Regions from separate parts of the Homo sapiens genome. Here region 2 is linked to region 1. Evidence: promoter capture Hi-C in human tissues and cell types (Jung and others, 2019). All regions are on one chromosome and are shown on one strand. Each heading gives the region's core, a stretch centred on a gene start or on the middle of the fragment in contact. The rest is flanking DNA. Distances are from core to core; before and after follow the strand shown. Region 1 holds the start of SPACA7 (sperm acrosome associated 7). Region 2 overlaps LINC01044 (long intergenic non-protein coding RNA 1044).

What was found. The method cuts DNA at HindIII sites, captures the fragments that hold promoters and counts their contacts. A contact is called where the count stands out against the background at its distance.
Region 2: a fragment that was not itself captured here is called in contact with the fragment with the promoter of SPACA7 in region 1 in 3 of the 25 tissues and cell types used here (dorsolateral prefrontal cortex, pancreas and spleen).

Annotation. Positions count from the first base shown.
Region 1 is chr13:112,371,576-112,379,497 of GRCh38, forward strand. SPACA7 (sperm acrosome associated 7) reads left to right here and starts at 4,780. Exons shown (of 7, transcript NM_145248.5): 1 at 4,780-4,904. The coding sequence starts at 4,811. LOC105370373 (a long non-coding RNA gene) reads right to left here and starts at 4,703. Exons shown (of 3, transcript XR_944295.3): 1 at 4,549-4,703; 2 at 759-838. It overlaps LOC105370372 (a long non-coding RNA gene), which reads right to left. Exons shown (of 5, transcript XR_944294.2): 4 at 7,432-7,490; 5 at 7,163-7,291. RefSeq lists an enhancer at 6,232-7,431. The HindIII fragment of the contact is 14,702 bases long and covers 1-7,373 here.
Region 2 is chr13:112,321,124-112,329,045 of GRCh38, forward strand. LINC01044 (long intergenic non-protein coding RNA 1044) reads right to left here. Exons shown (of 3, transcript NR_126345.1): 2 at 6,123-6,422; 3 at 1,444-1,633. It overlaps LINC01043 (long intergenic non-protein coding RNA 1043), which reads left to right. Exons shown (of 2, transcript NR_135321.1): 2 at 1-643. Among named protein-coding and RNA genes, the nearest start is that of LINC01044, 6.1 kb to the right of the region's middle. The HindIII fragment of the contact is 5,698 bases long and covers 1,786-7,483 here.

The sequences.
Region 1 (7,922 bases), core at 3,530-6,029:
AGATGGATTGATGACATATTCAAAGACATGAGATTAAAAAGTGCCTGAAGTGAATAAAGATTGGGTCTGCAGATCAAAAGGACATATCTTCTTCCTGGGAAGTTTAACAGAGAACAGAAATGCCAAGGCAAATCCTAATTCTGCTGCTTAATTTCAAGATAAAGAAAGAATAACTCGGGTCTTCACACAGCCAGAGCAGATCATCTGCAAGAGGGGGTCCATGTCAGGTGGTCCACAGAGCGCTCCACACAGCACTCAGGATCTGCAACGGGGAAACTGTAACAACTCTTAGGGAAGGAGGGCTGGCCCGTGAATCTTGTTCCCCCACAAGTCACTGTTAGATTCTAAAGCCAACAACCTAAGTTCTCAGGTCTGAAGATGTCCTGGGATAGAACATCTCTGAGCTCTTCTTAGGGGAAATAAGAAGTTCATGGCCAATTAACATTGAATCAAAAGAAAGGAAGTGAGAGGAAGGGAGAGTGAAGCCGTCCTCGTATTTCAGATCAGGAAGTCGGCTGTTCCTGTGGAAAAGTGAAACTTGCACGTTTAAAAAAAAAATGCATTGACTCCAAATACCTAAGTTTTTCCCCAGAGTCTCCCCTCCTCTCCTGTGAGCAATGACTGAGAGAGAGGAAATACTGGACGTTCATCAATTCCTTCAGTTGTTCTTCAGGTTTTTTTCCCTCCATTAAATCTGAGTAAATTTGAAGAATTACTTTTGTTGCAGGAGTGAGGTGGTGTGTTCCCACCTTTATTACCTTATGTTATTACCCCACAGGTGTTTGCGTCCACAGAAGAGCTCCTCACACCATGTCTATCTCTCCACGCGCCCACCAGCCTGTGCACGTAAACATAGATGAAGAGGTGTCTGCCACGATGTTAACCTGATATTCATGGTGGTCGTGGCTGCGGGACAACTGGGGTCATTTTTTAATTTTCACGTTTTTGTCGTTTCATTGCTTAAGTTCTCTATAGTGAGTATGTATTATTAGCGTATTTATAAAAACAAAACCATGATTTTTCAAAAATTAAAAACATCAAAGGCAAATATTCTAAGATGCTAACAGTGTTAATTTTGTACAATGGAACTAAGTATGTTTGCATTTTTCTTGTTTTGTTTTGTTTTGTTTTTGTGAGATGGGGTCTCACTCTGTTGCCCGGGCTAGAGTGCAGTGGCATAATCACAGCTCACTACAGTCTCTGTCTCCCCAAGGTCAGGTGATCCTCCTACCTCGGCCTTCTAAGTAGCTGAGACTACAGGTGCATGCCACCACACCCAGCTAATTTTCGTATTTTTAGTAGATACAGGGTTTCACCTTATTGGTCAGGCTGGTCTCGAACTCCTGACCTCAGGTGATCCACCCGCCTCGGCCTCCTAAAGTGCTGGGATTACAGGTGTGAGCCACCGCACCCAGTTTTTTTTTTTTTTTTTTTTTTTGAGATGGAGTCTCGATCTGCTACCCAGTCTAGAATGCAGTGACACAATCACGGCTCACTACAGCCTCTGCCTCCCCAAGGTCAGGTGATGCTCCTACCTTAGCCTTCCAAGTAGATGGGACTGCAGACATTTACCACCATGCCTGGCTAATTTTTGTATTCTTTGTAGAGATGACGTTTTGCTCTGTTGCCCAGGCTGGTTTCAAACTCCTAGGCTCAAGCGATCCACCCACCTCAGCCTCACAAAGTGCTGGGATAACAGGTGTGAGCCACTGGACCTAGCCTTGCATTTTTCTTTTAATTTTTAAAATTTTTACATTTCCAAAAATTAAAAAAATAAGGAAAGCCTGTTTATTTTAAAAGAGCCATAAAGAGTTCTTTCCTCTTTCCCCTGGAAGATGCAGGAAACAAATCTCTATTGGTATATGACAGAAACAATCTCTCAACTGAAATGCAACCATGGAGAAAAAACTTCTAGGAGTCATATGCTGCTGCTATGACAGTTATGCAAATGAATTAAAGTCCCCATTCAAAGAAACTGGTATAAATAGATTAATTTGTTAAATTCCCTTCTGGTTTTAATGTTGCATGCAAATACAAATGCAAAGGGAATTATGTGTAAAATTGTTGCTAAAAGACAGCAAAGAATAAGAAAAATAAATTTGCCATCAACCTCCCAAGGGTTGGTGAGAGATTCTTCAAACTAGAATCTCATAAAGCAACTGATTAAAAACACATACCAGACACTCTAACCTCTTCTTTCCAATTAGCTAAGCAAATCTATGAAACGCGGGGGGCAGAGCTCTGTGAACTAAGCCAGTCTGACTACCATATATATTTTTTAGACAGAGTCTTGCTCTGTCACCCAGGCTGGAGTGCAGTGGCGCGATCTCCGCTCACTGCAAGCTCCGCCTCCCAGGTTCATGCCATTCTCCTGCCTCAGCCTCCCGAGTAGCTGGGACTACAGGTGCCCACCCAGTTAATTTTTTTGTATTTTTAGTAGAGACGGGGTTTCACCGTGTTAGCCAGGATGGTCTTGATCTCCTGACCTCGTGATCCGCCCACCTCGGCCTCCCAAAGTGCTGGGATTACAGGCGTGAGCTACCGCGCCCGGCCTCTGACTACCATATTTTAGTGCTCAAATCTGTTCCTCCACTCCTGCATCTGGGATTAGTTTGACTCATTTGGCCGATGAGACATTAGCAAATGTGGTGCAAGAAAAGGCTTGTTTGCATCGAGGCTTACTCTCCTTTCTGCTGTGACCAAGCCCAGGCTGCCTGCTAGAGGCCGAGAGACCACATGGAGGGAAGCCTCAGCCATCCCAAGCCCCAGCATCCTAGCTAAGGCCTCAGACATGTCCATGAGGCCACACTAGGCCAGCAGCCCCCAGAGCCAACCCACAAAGTTGTAAGCAATCACACATGGGCTGTATCAAGTCACCGAGCTTCGGGCAGCCTTGAGAATGACTCCTTCCTCGACCAAATCAGCGAGGCTCCTCTGACCCCTCTTCTCAACGAGGCCTCGCCCCCAGCCCTGATCAAATTCCTCATCCTCCGCCTTGAGGTGGAAGTCCCTGGCCTGCCTTAGCCAGACATCCCTCCTTGGTGCAGTGGGTGTCGTTCGACAGGCAGCAGTGCAGGGTTCTGCTGTCATGGGAGCTCTGGCTGCTGTCCGTTTGTACATTCAGCCTCTTAGGCCCATGCTGCTGGCCCCAAAATGACATTCTGAGTAGCAAGAGCCTGGGTTATAGAAGCAAGCATCTCACTTGGACCATTCATTAACTCAGAGTGGGACTTGGAACCCACTGGGTTTCTGTAAATGTCAACCATGCTTAGTGTGCCTTTATGGACACGCTGAAAATCTGAAATATACTCCCCACACCTTGAGGTAGATTGGCTACCACTGCATCTATCAAAAGGAAAACCTGAGCAAAAATGTGCTGTGGGTTCCCATACAAGCAATAAAAATTAAAGAGCCAGAGACCCATGGTGGGTCAGCCATCCTTGGGGTCCTGACCAGACCTCGGGGGCATTGTTAGTCTTGTGCGTCCAGGGCCCCAGTGATATGGTTTGGCTCTGTGTCCTCACCCAAGCATCATCTTGAATTATAATCCTCATAATCCCACGTGTTGAGGGAGGGACTTGGTGGGAGGCGATCTGATCATGGGAGTGGATTCCTGCATGCTGTTCTCATGATAAGTGAGTTCTCACTAGAGCTGATGGTTTTATAAGTGTTTAACAGCTCCTCCTTCATGTACTCTCTCTCCTGCCGCCTTGTGAAGAAGGTGCCTGCTTCCCCTTCCGTCATGATTGTAAGTTTCCTGAGGCCTCCCCAGCCATGCAGAACTGTGAGTCAATTAAATCTCTTTTCTTTATAAATTACCCAGTCTCAGGGAAGTTCTATATAGCAGTGTGGGAACAGACAAACACACCAGCCCTCTCCACCATGGAGCTGGGATCTGAGGGCTGTTCACCTGGGACCCCACCACCGGCCGAGTCTAGACCAGCTGCCCCACTCTGAGCCCTGGATGTAGGAGTCAGTCCAGGGGTGAGATAGGATCCAGGGGAGCCAACCAGAGTGACTCCTTTGGGGTTTTGTCACTGCACGGATGGAGAAAGCTCTAGAAAGTCTAGGAGATAGAGCTGGGAGGATGATAACATGGAAATGCAGCCATGTTCTCCTCTCGTGATTAAAGTCTCACTGCCAGGGAAAGATTGGGGCTGATGCTGAGAAAGAAGGTGTGGGGGAAAGGAGGCTGAAACCTGGGTCATCTGTCTCCTGTTCTTCATGATCCTGGAACTTTGAGGGTGGGGGAGGGTGGGAGGGGACATGGGGCCACGGGCCTCTGTTCTTCAAGGCTCTGTTCTTCAAGGGACCTTTAAGAGGTGATTAGACCCTCTGGATCTGTCGGTTCTGGCACTTGCTCTGTAATTCAACCACCTCTCCAGCATCCTTCAAATACGCCTCTTTCCATGGGAGCAGATTTTGTTGGCTTTTGGCCACTGGCCCTTAAGTCCTGATTAGTATCTACCCCTTGAGTCCTCAGGGTGCTCAGGACAGAGGAAGTCACCAGAACAGGCAATAAGAAAGAGTGGAGAGGATCTCTGTTACCTTAAGACCCCAGTGAGCCTCCTCCCTGCTTCCCAGTCACAGACTCTGGACAGAAACCCTGCCCCCCGCCCCTGGCAAGATGCCAGCTCCCTTCCTGGTCCTGATGTCACAGGTCCCTGGACATGACCTCCCCACCAGGGCAGGACCCCAGCTCCCTTCCTGGTTGTGATGTCACAGGTCCTGACATTCCACAGTGTCCTGGAGACCAAGGATGGGAAACTGTCAACCTTCAGAACGTCCTTCTCCCTCAGCTGGAGGGAGCATGGCAGTGAGCCAAGGAGACGGGACCCTCTGCTTTGTCCTCCTGCTGTGCTGTTGGCAAGAAACTGAGCTCCGGCCGAGAACCGTGATTCCAGGTAGGGCCCCACAGGGATGTCTCAGCAGAAAGAGAACTGAACCAGGTGGGGAGCGGCGGCCTCTTCTCCCATGGGTTCCTCTTATTCCCAACCTACATGAATTTACCATTTATTCCTTGGGGAATGAATGTAGCTGAAAAGTCTTTCTATCTTTGAAGACTTTTTAAAATCTAGATGTCCATAGGAAAGTTGCAAATGTTACTTATTTTAACTTTTTATTATGGAAAATTTCTAACTGGGAAGAATATCATGAACCTTCGTGTATTCACCCTCAGGTTCAATTATTGTGCATATTTTGTTTTTTTCTACACACACACACATACACACTCCACACCACATACACACACTTTTCTTGTTTGGGGAGTATTTTAGCACCATCCCAGATGCCTTACCACCTCATGTAAAACATTTTCTTGCGAAGAGATAAAAGCATTATCTACAATGTCATAATCAGACTAACATAATTACCAAAAGCCTTTATCTCAGCTCATACCGTTAAAAAATATTTGTGATGCTTGCTAAAGATGGGCAGGCAGCCTTTATTCAAAGGGGGCTACTACCATGGTGTCTCATAATAGTGGAGAGTGGGCTCAACTCCAAATACAGGGAAAGTGGAGATTTGCAGCCAAGGATCAGGGTGGGTCAGTGGATGAACATTGCTAAAAGGTAGGAGAATTCTTTGCTAAACTGATTCAGCAAAGGCCAAGAGGGCTTTTATAAACAAAAATGAAGCATTTATATTTTTTGTCCCACCTGATTACTCTAGAATTTGGATATTATGATTTTCAGGACCATACAATTGTTTGCATAAGTTTAATAAAAATTGATTATCCTTGCAACAGGACACAAAGGTCTGCTATCTTTGAAGACCTTTTAAAATCTAGACATCCATGAGAGAGTTGCATATGTTACTTATTTTAACTTTTTATTATGGAAAATTTCTAACTTGGAAGAATATCATGAACCTCCATGTATTCACCCTCTAGTTCAATTATTGTGTATATTGTGTTCGGCCAAACAGGAGGCCAGACCTGAAAGGAAGCCAAGGCAATAAAATAATCAAAGATGGAGGGTGAGGAATTTGATCAGATATCAAGGGTGACCAGGCCAAGACTAGGGGATTTCCACTAAAAGACTTCACAGGATTCCTACTAAACATGGGGAAAAGCAGACAAAAGCAGAAGCTAGGGTCAAGGCCTAGTCAAAGAGAAGACTCAGAGGAGCCTGGCATGAGGTAAGTCAAGGAGCGAGGCTTTCTCATTCCCTCCTCTTGTTCAAGAAAGAAGAGACATTCCTTTTCTCTTTGAACAAGATAAGTCCATGTTTCATCTGGTGGAGGATGTGTGCTGGATGGTACAAGTAGTCGGGAATTTAATGAGGGGAATGTCTACGAAAAAGAGAAGAAAAACAAAGATTTATAGTTGGAAACACAGTTTCCGAATCCAGAGGGCAGTCTGTTGAGAAGATTTCTGGATTTTGGGCTCAAGGTATCTTCAGCCGATGGGGCAAGGATGGATTTCCTAGTTTGCAGGGGGTGTGTCCTTGGTGACATCATGACCATCAGAGCCACAGTCATGGTTATGCTGGGGGCAGAGCGTGGATGTGTCCAGCTTCAGCCTTTCCAGATGGTCCCACGGAAGGCCTGAGTTGTCAGGCTTTAGTTCTCACTAACACCCAGTCAGGAGGGCAGAAGAAAGACTGGAAATGTTAGCCTGGGAACATTGAAGGACTCTAAAAGGCTTCAGGATCCAGTCCAGTTTACAGGTAGATAACAAAGTAGAAAGTAAGGTGGAGTTTATCAAAAGATAAAAAAAAGTAGAATACACAGGGTTATAACTCACAAGGGTGTGCTACCATTTTTCATTAAAACATAAAATATGGCTCTATGGTCACCCTCTTTTTTTGATCAAGATAACCAAAGTAATGCTATTCTTGTCTCAAAAATATATCACATCTTACAAGATTTGGTCTGATTATTTACATAAGTGCAGCAAGAATGGTAATGGACCACATAAACTGAGTTTTCTCTGCTGGAGCTTTTTACAAGGAATCTCAGATTAGATTTTTTAAAAGCTTTTTGAGGCTAGGAAGCCCAGCCAAAAACTCACCATCAGACTTCACATGTGGTACCTAAAGACTTGGGTGAATTTCTCTCTTCCGAAGGTCTCGAGGTTCCCAAAGTTCCTGGATCTGCCAGCAAATGACCTTCTTCACTCACCTGTGGGATGGGGACCCGGTGAGCCAGGTAGCAGGTCAGTTTCTCCAGCTCCATCAAATCAACCTCAGTTTTTAAAAACTGTCTGGTCACCTCTGATTCTATGTATCAATCTCAAATATGACATTCCAGTCAAAGCCTTGGTAATATGACCAATGTTTCCAATCGTGTCCTGTTGCAAGGAGAATCAATTTTTATTAAACTTACGCAAACAATTGTATGGTCCTGAAAATCATAATATCCAAATTCTAGAGTAATCAGGTGGGACAAAAAATATAAATGCTTCATTTTTGTTTATGAAAGTGTAATTACCAAATTGTTGTCCGTTATGCGTAGCCTAAGAGAAACCGGAAGCAGAGAGTTCTTTAAATCTGGAAAACAAAACATTAAAAAACCAGAAACATTTCCAAGAAAATTCAGAAAAATTATAATCGTCCCCACATTGAGTCCCACATCATTAATTCTTGTTCTACTTGATCTTGGGTTAGCAGGTTTACAAATCCGTCAATGTCTCCCTGAGTTCTGGAAAAGTCCAGTCTAATAGTGCAATCTTAGAGGCGTCAGAAACCTTACTCCAGAGTACTTGGCAGAGTCTTACCTAAAAATCTCCTTGAAGACAAAGAATTTTTGGACTGTAGCTGATTGCAAAAGCTTTCAAAAAAGCATCAGAGTAAAACAATAATTGTCTTGAATGACAAAAGACATAAAATGCATAAAATGGCCATGGTTAAAAATCTGATGAGAGTTCATTATGCTGCAATTGACAAGGAAATTTGGTTGTTTCTGTGACATACAACATTACA
Region 2 (7,922 bases), core at 3,385-5,884, 51 kb before region 1:
ATCAAGACAAGGTGATGATGGACAGGCATGCACACATGAGCACGTGGAGCACACAGTGTGTTTGGCTGCAGGAGAAGAATCCAGTTTTCAGCAGGTGAATGCAGAGAAGCCCTGCTGCTCAGGACAAAGAATGTTTCCAGAATGAACCATGTTTGCAGCTCTCCATTGCCCAGGATGAGCGGCGTCCCCAGGTGCCTGGCCCTTTTATCACCCAGGCTGATGGTACATCCAGAGGCAGCCATGGCTCAGCCCCCAAGCAAGGCCAGCAATGGCCGGGAAGAAGCTTATTCAATGGGATTCTCTGCAGAGTTGTTCTGACTTTCAGCTTGCAGGGATGTGGGCATAGAAAACAAGAGGCTGACTTCTCAATCAATCGTCACTTAAGGATGCAGAGCCAGTGGAAGCCCTTTCTTTCATGACTTTTAGCATTTTTTCTTCATTTTCAGAAAATCCACACCATCTCCATATATGCATGCACGCATGAGTGTCCGTCCGCCCCCTAACTGTGGGGTTAAGAATCATGTGACTGCTCATGCTGGAAAAACAAGACAATCACCATCATAAAAGCCCACATCATTTACAGATCTTGGAACTTGAACTTTCTTTAAAAGATAAATATAGTAGTTTACATTTTGGAGCTGGAGACATTGTCTTCCTTTCTCTTTTCCCCTTCCACCCTTCTCAAGTATACTTGCCTTTATTTTGAATGAGAAACAGGCAACGGGGGGGTGCCACCTCACACAAAGAAAAAGGCAATTATTTAGAAACTGCGCAGTCAAAAAGTCAGAAGTGTCTAAAAGCACAGTGAGTCCCCCTGTTCATGGCATGGATGCCCTGTCCACTGATGGCACAGCCACACTGCTGGTGCCTGGGTAGCACCTGCCTCCTTGAGCGATGGTCACTGAAGCAAACCCCACTGTCTGTAGATGCCGTTAGCATCCCCCTCATGAGGTCTGCTCTGTGAGAAGGTCGGTCAGTGAGTGGCAGCACTGGGCAGTGATGAGGAGGACCCTGAGTGGGTGTGGGGCGTCGCCTGGATATTAGCTGTGGGTCAGGTAGACACAGAGAAGATGCTGGTGGGCTAGGCACATGTATCCACCCAGAAGATGAATCTGGTTTTGATCGAAAGTCTTCATAGAGAGAAGAACACTTGGATTTGTTTTGGGGAAGGCTTCCCTGTTAGGATGTAGACGGGGACAGATGTACTGTGACTGCTAGTCCAGGAGACAGATGCTGAGTGAGTGAGGTTTGGATGTCTCGCGTGCCCTGGGCTGGAGGCTGAGATTTCCACGTTAGGTAGGACATGTGTCAGCCGCAGGGACTCACCGGCAGTAGGAGTTTATAGAGAGGGATTTCTGTTGAAGTCATTCACTTCCTCATTTACCTCCATCCCCATATTTGCAATCTTGACTGGGTCCCTGATGACTGCATCCTAGAGTCCCAATTTCCTGAGTTAGAGTACTTCATTTGTAAGCAAAAGTAACCCAGTTCAAGCTGGCATAGGAAAGAAGCAGAAGGCATTCAACGCGGCTGCAGGCATGGATGGCTCCAAGCGTGTAGCAGTGGCAATGCCTTCAGTGGTCCTTGGCTCTGCGTTGGCTGGGCTGGCTTCCTCAGGCGGGAGCATCGCACACTGTGAAGGTGACCATGGCATGCCCTGTGCTGGGGGTGGGCAGCAGGAAGCATCCACCACAGGCACTGAACCTGTAGGGCGCCCAAACCAACAGCCAGCCCCATGGTGGCACTCCACGCGTGGGGGGCCAGGAAGCCTTTAAAATCTCGTTCCAAAACTGACTTAATGACCCAGAAAGCGCAAGTCGGTAAATAGCAATGAAAAAGCAGGCACAACTATTGACAATTGCAAAGACATGGAATCAGCCTATGTGCCCATCAATGGTAGGCTGGATAAAGAAAATGTGGTACATATACACCATGGCCTACTACGCAGCCATAGCAAGGAATGAGATCATGTCCTTTTCAGGAACATGGATGGAGCTGGAAGCCATTATCCTCAGCAAACTAATGCAGGAAGAGAAAACCAAACACCGCATGTTCTCACTTATAAGTGGGAGCCGAATGATGAGAACACATGGACACACTATGGGGAACAACACACTGAGGCCTGTCGGAGGGTGGGGCATGGAGGGACAGAGACCATCAGGAAGAATAGCTGAGGGATGCTGGCTTCATACCTAGGTGACGGGATGGTCTGTGCAGCAAACCTCCATGGCACGTGTTTACCTTTGCAACAAACCTGCACACCCTGCACGTGTACCCTGGAACTTAAAAGCTGAAGGAAAAAAGAAAAGTAAAAGCAGGCACAAATCTTTCTCTCTCTATGCCACACACATGCACACACACACACACACACACAGATTTATAAAAGCAAGTACAAATTGGACATGCGTGGACTCTGCACTGCAGCCATGAGGTGGGATTCTCTCTGCAGAAGAACAGAGAATTCTCTCTGGGTGTGGTCTGGCCTCAGAGCCGGTGTGTGCCATCATCCCTCCCTCCGCTTCCTGCCCCTGCAGATTCCTGCAGGCACTGGGGAGTGACTTCTCTGAGAAGTCTTGAGATCATGAAACCTGTGGTCTTGCCCAACACAGTTCCCAAACTCACTCGTGCCCAAGGCTTTATTTTGAAAGATGCCTATTTGATCTCCCAGAGCTCCAGCTCTGTGGAAAACCCCTTGGGAAGGCTGATCTAACCCAATCTCCCCACTCTACAGATGAGGACATTGAGGCCCCGAAGCATGGAGAGGCCTCTCCACGGATGCAGAGTGAGTGACTGAAGCTCTGGCTGGGTGTGTGTTCATCGCTTGACCCATCTTCCTGAGACCCACGGCTGCTGTCGTGGGTTGAATCATGTCCCCCAAAAAGATGTGTTCGAGTCTTAACCCATGGCACCTGGGGCTTTATATGGAAACGGGGTCCTTGCAGATATAACTGGTTAAGATGAGGTCACACTGAGTAGGGGGGGCCCTAATTCAATGGCCGATGTCTTTATTAAATGGGAAAACATGGACACAGACATGCGCAGAGGGAAGACAGCCATGCAGCAGCAGGGCCAGAGACAGGAGTGATGGGTTTACGAGCCAGGAGCGGCAAGGAGCTGGAAGAGGCGGCGAAAGGCTCCTCCCTGCGGGGCTCAGAGGGGCAGGGTCTCAGGCTTCCAGCCTCCTGCAGAGCTGGAGGTAAGAAACTCGTGCTGTCATATGCCACCTGGCGTGTGGCACTTTGTTACGACAGCCACAGGTGGGGGGCGAGGACCATCTGCTGAGGAAGCTTCATTTATACCGGGAGGGATGCGTGGAAACTGAACAGCCCCGCATCATCCCCCGCCGCCCCCACCCCTTTCTAGCCCCAGTCAGTCTAGGGAATAACAAAAACCTGTGATTCTAAAGCATCTTCCAAACCAGTAACGGGCCTCAGAGAGAGAGATGGGGACAGTCAGGAAACTTAGTCATATTAGTCATAATTCTAAAGAAAATTATCTTCCTGTTTGTTTTCAAAAATACCAGTTTTCTTCAAATATGAATATAAGCCTGATCAATTGGTTCATTATATTGAAATGTTCAGTTACGTACAATAATTATAATTAAGCACTGAAATCCAACTCAAACCAATCTATTTAAATGAACCCGAACCTACGAGAAAACATCAAACTCATGTTAAAAAAAAATGTAGGGTTAGAATATTCCGCAATCCTTTGAAGATATTATTTATAATCGTGCTTGGTAAATCAGAGAAACCCCTTAGAGCCCAAAGACAATGTCTAGCATAAAGCACTGTAGAAATAAAACCCTTTATATATTTTTTATAAAGCCTAAAATCAATCCTGACCCAGGCAGCAGTTTCTACATATTTAGATTTGGTTTGTTGCACCTTTAATGGAATGCTATCAATTTTCTGCCTTTTAGATGCTTGGGCAATTGAAGCATTTTAACACTGCTCTAGAATAAGTGCTTTCTGTGAGTTCATCCTCCAGTTCAAACAGAACTGCATTTCCTGGTAAAATTTTACCTCGTAATTATTACACTTTTTTTTATCATCTTCATGCCACAAGATGTGAAGTCCAAAATATTTATGTTCCCGATTGTCAGTCTTTCCTTCTTAGAGATGTCGAAGTGAAAACAAAATAGACAACTCATTTTGTTGAATCAATACAGGCGCATTATCACAGCAAGATTATAATTCAGGTGCACAAAACCTGCATTTTCAGAGTACAGCAAGGAAGTCGGGAGGTGCTAAGAGGCACAGCAGGTAACTAATATCAGTAAAGTGGCCCAGATCTGTGTTCAAACAACAGAATAGGGGGTCTAACTTCAACCCACAAAAATGACAAAAATCAGAGTGAAGCGCAGAGTCCGTCCCTGAACCCGCCCTGCCACGCGGCAGCCAGGGAGGGTGACCTGCTGTCGTCTGGGGTGGTGACGCTGCTTGGTGACCTCGCCACACGAAAGGACCATGATTCCTGCAGGGCGGAAGCAACCGATGAGCAGTAACAACTCTTCACGGGGACACAGACAGGTAACCGGGGCACAGGTGTCCTGAACACCGCGAGGCAGCCCCCTCCTCCGAGCTCCCTCTCTCTCTCCTCTCTCCTGCCGTGGCTCCCCCACTTCCTTCCTCCGTCGCAGCCACGGCCTCTGCATCTTGATGATCTCTTTTCCAGAAACAACGTTATAACGAAATAGAAGAAACCTCAGTCATCCACGGGGAAAGCAGTGCTTTCCAGCATTTAAGCGCATTTCTGAATGCACTGAGATACACGGCATTTGAATGTAAACTTTATGTCTATTTTGGCTTCCAGAGATCACTCTCTCTAGAGCTTAAACTACACAGAGTCTCCTACAATGAGTGAAGAACAGACCCCAAAACACAAAGCATTTTCCTGGCTGCCCACCCACCAGGCCTTCAGCATGCATAGCTCACTCTCAGGCCGAGAAACAGCACACGCGTGCAGACCCCAGCCTCGTTCCCTGCACCGCCCACCGGCACCTCCCCACGAGCCGGACCGAAGAGGGACCCGGTAGCCCATCGCAGCCTCTGACAGTGCTCAGGAGCAGACCACAGCCAAAAGTCCCAGTCACCCATGGAATTTGGAGGAGGTTAGAAATGTTTCTGTTGTATGATTTCAGGACATCAAGACGCTATTTTTAGGCGTGTGAGTCATCACAGTGTTCCCTGACAAGAGCCAGCCCCAGCACGTGCACGACACCCACAGCGATGGGCTCGTGGAAAACAAGCTCAGCCCGGCTCACGGTGCCCGGAGATCCACCTGGCACCCATCAGTGACCACAGTTCAGGGCGTCGGGTCTTGGCCTGAGCAAGGTGAGGGACAAAGTAGCCCCAGGCAGCAGGCAGGGAGAAGACATGTCCTCTGCCCTGGGAGCAGCAGCTTTGCCCTGTGAGGGCTACGTGGGGCCAGTGCCTCCTGCTCAGCCCAGGACACCCACGGCCGGGCACACAGAGGGCAGGTGCTCAATCCCCATCTCCTGGAGGCCTGGAGTCAGCGGGGCCTGGGGAGGCAGGGCAGATAGATAAGGCAGCCGCCCGGAGGGAACGGCCTCCCTAGAGCATCACACTCACCCCACCAGCACACACGAGCACACACGAGTGCAAAGGAGAGCACACACAAGCACAGAAGGGCACACGGGAGTATACGAGGGCACAGAAATGCATACAGAGCATGTGCAAGCACATGCGAGAGCACCCCCGTCATATTCCATAGCAGCCGGACACCCTGATACCCTCCTTGATGAAGCTTCGTGCCCATAGCCTGGGCCCTGGCTCTGAGGTGGCTTTGAGGACTGACTGGAAGCTCGCGTGCAGCACTGAGCTTCGCCTGGCACCACAGGTCCCTGAATAGCATCGCTACGTTCAGCATCCTTTCCTTAGAACACTGATGAAAAGAAATCTGGATTTGGGCAGAGCACTGACTGTGCTCAGGGGCGTGTCCCCCACATCTGCATGGTTCTCACCAGTTCACTGTACAGACAGCAGCCGCAGCCATAGACAGCACCAGGCCCTCCCACTGCTGTGTGATCCCCCAGGAGCCAGCCGCACAGCCAGCCCCTGCCCTCTGCCCCGCCCTGTGTCCCTGAGAGTGTCACTCACCTTTTCTCATCCTGTGGCTTGGGGAGGTTAGAAAATCTGATAGAAGGTTAGAAAACCTTCACGCACAGGTGCGATGGCTCACATCTGTAATCCCAGAGGCCGAGGCAGGTGGATCGCTTGAGGTCAGGAGTTCGAGACCAGCCTGGCCAACATGGCAAAACCCTGTCTCTATTAAAAATACAAAATTAGCCGGGCATGGTGATGGGCATCTGTAATCCCAGCTACTGGTGAGGCTGAGGCAGGAGAATCAGTTGAACTCAGGAGGCAGAGGTTGCAGTGAGCCAAGATCAGAGTGAGACTCTGTCTCAAAGAAAAGAAAAAAAAAATGAAAGTTTAGAAAAGCACACTTCCACAGCACGTGGCTTTAGTAGGGCTCTTCTACTGAAGGAGCACCCAGTGGCCAGGGCTGGAAATTTTAAACTAAGAACAATAATAGTAATAATAATAAATTCTATTCCATAGAATAGAATAAATATCCATGAGCTTAAGCTGATAAAAATAGGTAATCAAATAAGTACATAGGGTGGGGAGAGACAGCCCTTTCTCACAGGAGACTCCCAGTTACTCAGTGTGGAAGGAAAGAAGAAACGGGAAAAGCAGGAGCACCACCATTTGGCAAGCAGCACGGGAAGAAGCGTAGAAGGCAGTGTTCTCAAGGGAGCTGAGATCGGCAGGCAAAAGTATGAGAAACTGGCTATTTCCGTAGTCCCCAGATACCTTTTCATAAGACACCAAATCATGGCAAAGGGGAAAATCCCAAGCTGACAGGGGAGATGCCCGGCAGATGCCACCTACCTGTGTGGTCAAAGTTGCACCACCAGGAGTGAGGCTGGGGGACGTCACGTGCCTGCCGGGAGGCCCCAGAAGGACATTTGGCATTCTGGCCAAAAATGCATAATTTTAATTTATTCATGAAGAAACATCAGACGAACCCAAACAGAGGGGCATCCTATAAAATCAGCTCTCCAGAGCTGCCATGGTCATTGAAGAGGAATCTACAGGGAGGAAGAACTCCCCCAGCTGGGCAGCGACAAATGACACAGCAGCTAGAAGCAACCTGGGCCCTGAAATGGGTCTGGGACCAGAAAAGAGGCAATCACAGGGAAATTGGTAGCATTCACACAAGGCCTGTAGACCGGCTGGTAATAGTGTCATCTGCTATGTGACTGTAAGTTTAACACAATGAATTACGTAACCGCAGCCTTCAGGGAAGCTGGGTGGAGGGTAGGGCAGACACTTTATACTAGTTTTGCTATTTTTGCAACTCTTTTGTAAGCATGAGATTATTTCCAAGGTGTATTAGTCTGTTTTCACACTGCTATGAAGAAATACCCAAGACTGGGTACTTTATAAAGGAAAGAGGTTTAATTGACTCACAGTTCCTCATGGGTGGGGAGGCCTCAGGAAACTTACAATGACAGTGGAAGGCAAAGGGTAAGAAAGCACCTTCTTCACAAGGTGGCAGGAGAGAGAAGCGCAAAGGAGGAACTTCCAGACACTTATAAAACCATCAGCTCTCATGAGAACTCACTATGATGAGAACAGCATGGGGGAACTGCCTGTGCGATCCAATCACCTCCCTCCCTGGACACATAGGGATTACAGGTCAAGATGAGATTTGGGTGGGGACACAGAGCCAAACCATATCGCAAGGGAAAAGCTAAGAGACAAAGGAAGGCCACTGACTAATGGGCGTTCTTCACCATCCTTGCTCTGGATTTGTCTCACCAAGGGCGTTGCCCAAGCCAAACCCCCAAGTTGAGAAGCAGGACTTTCTGTGGTTTCATCTGCAGATGGAGT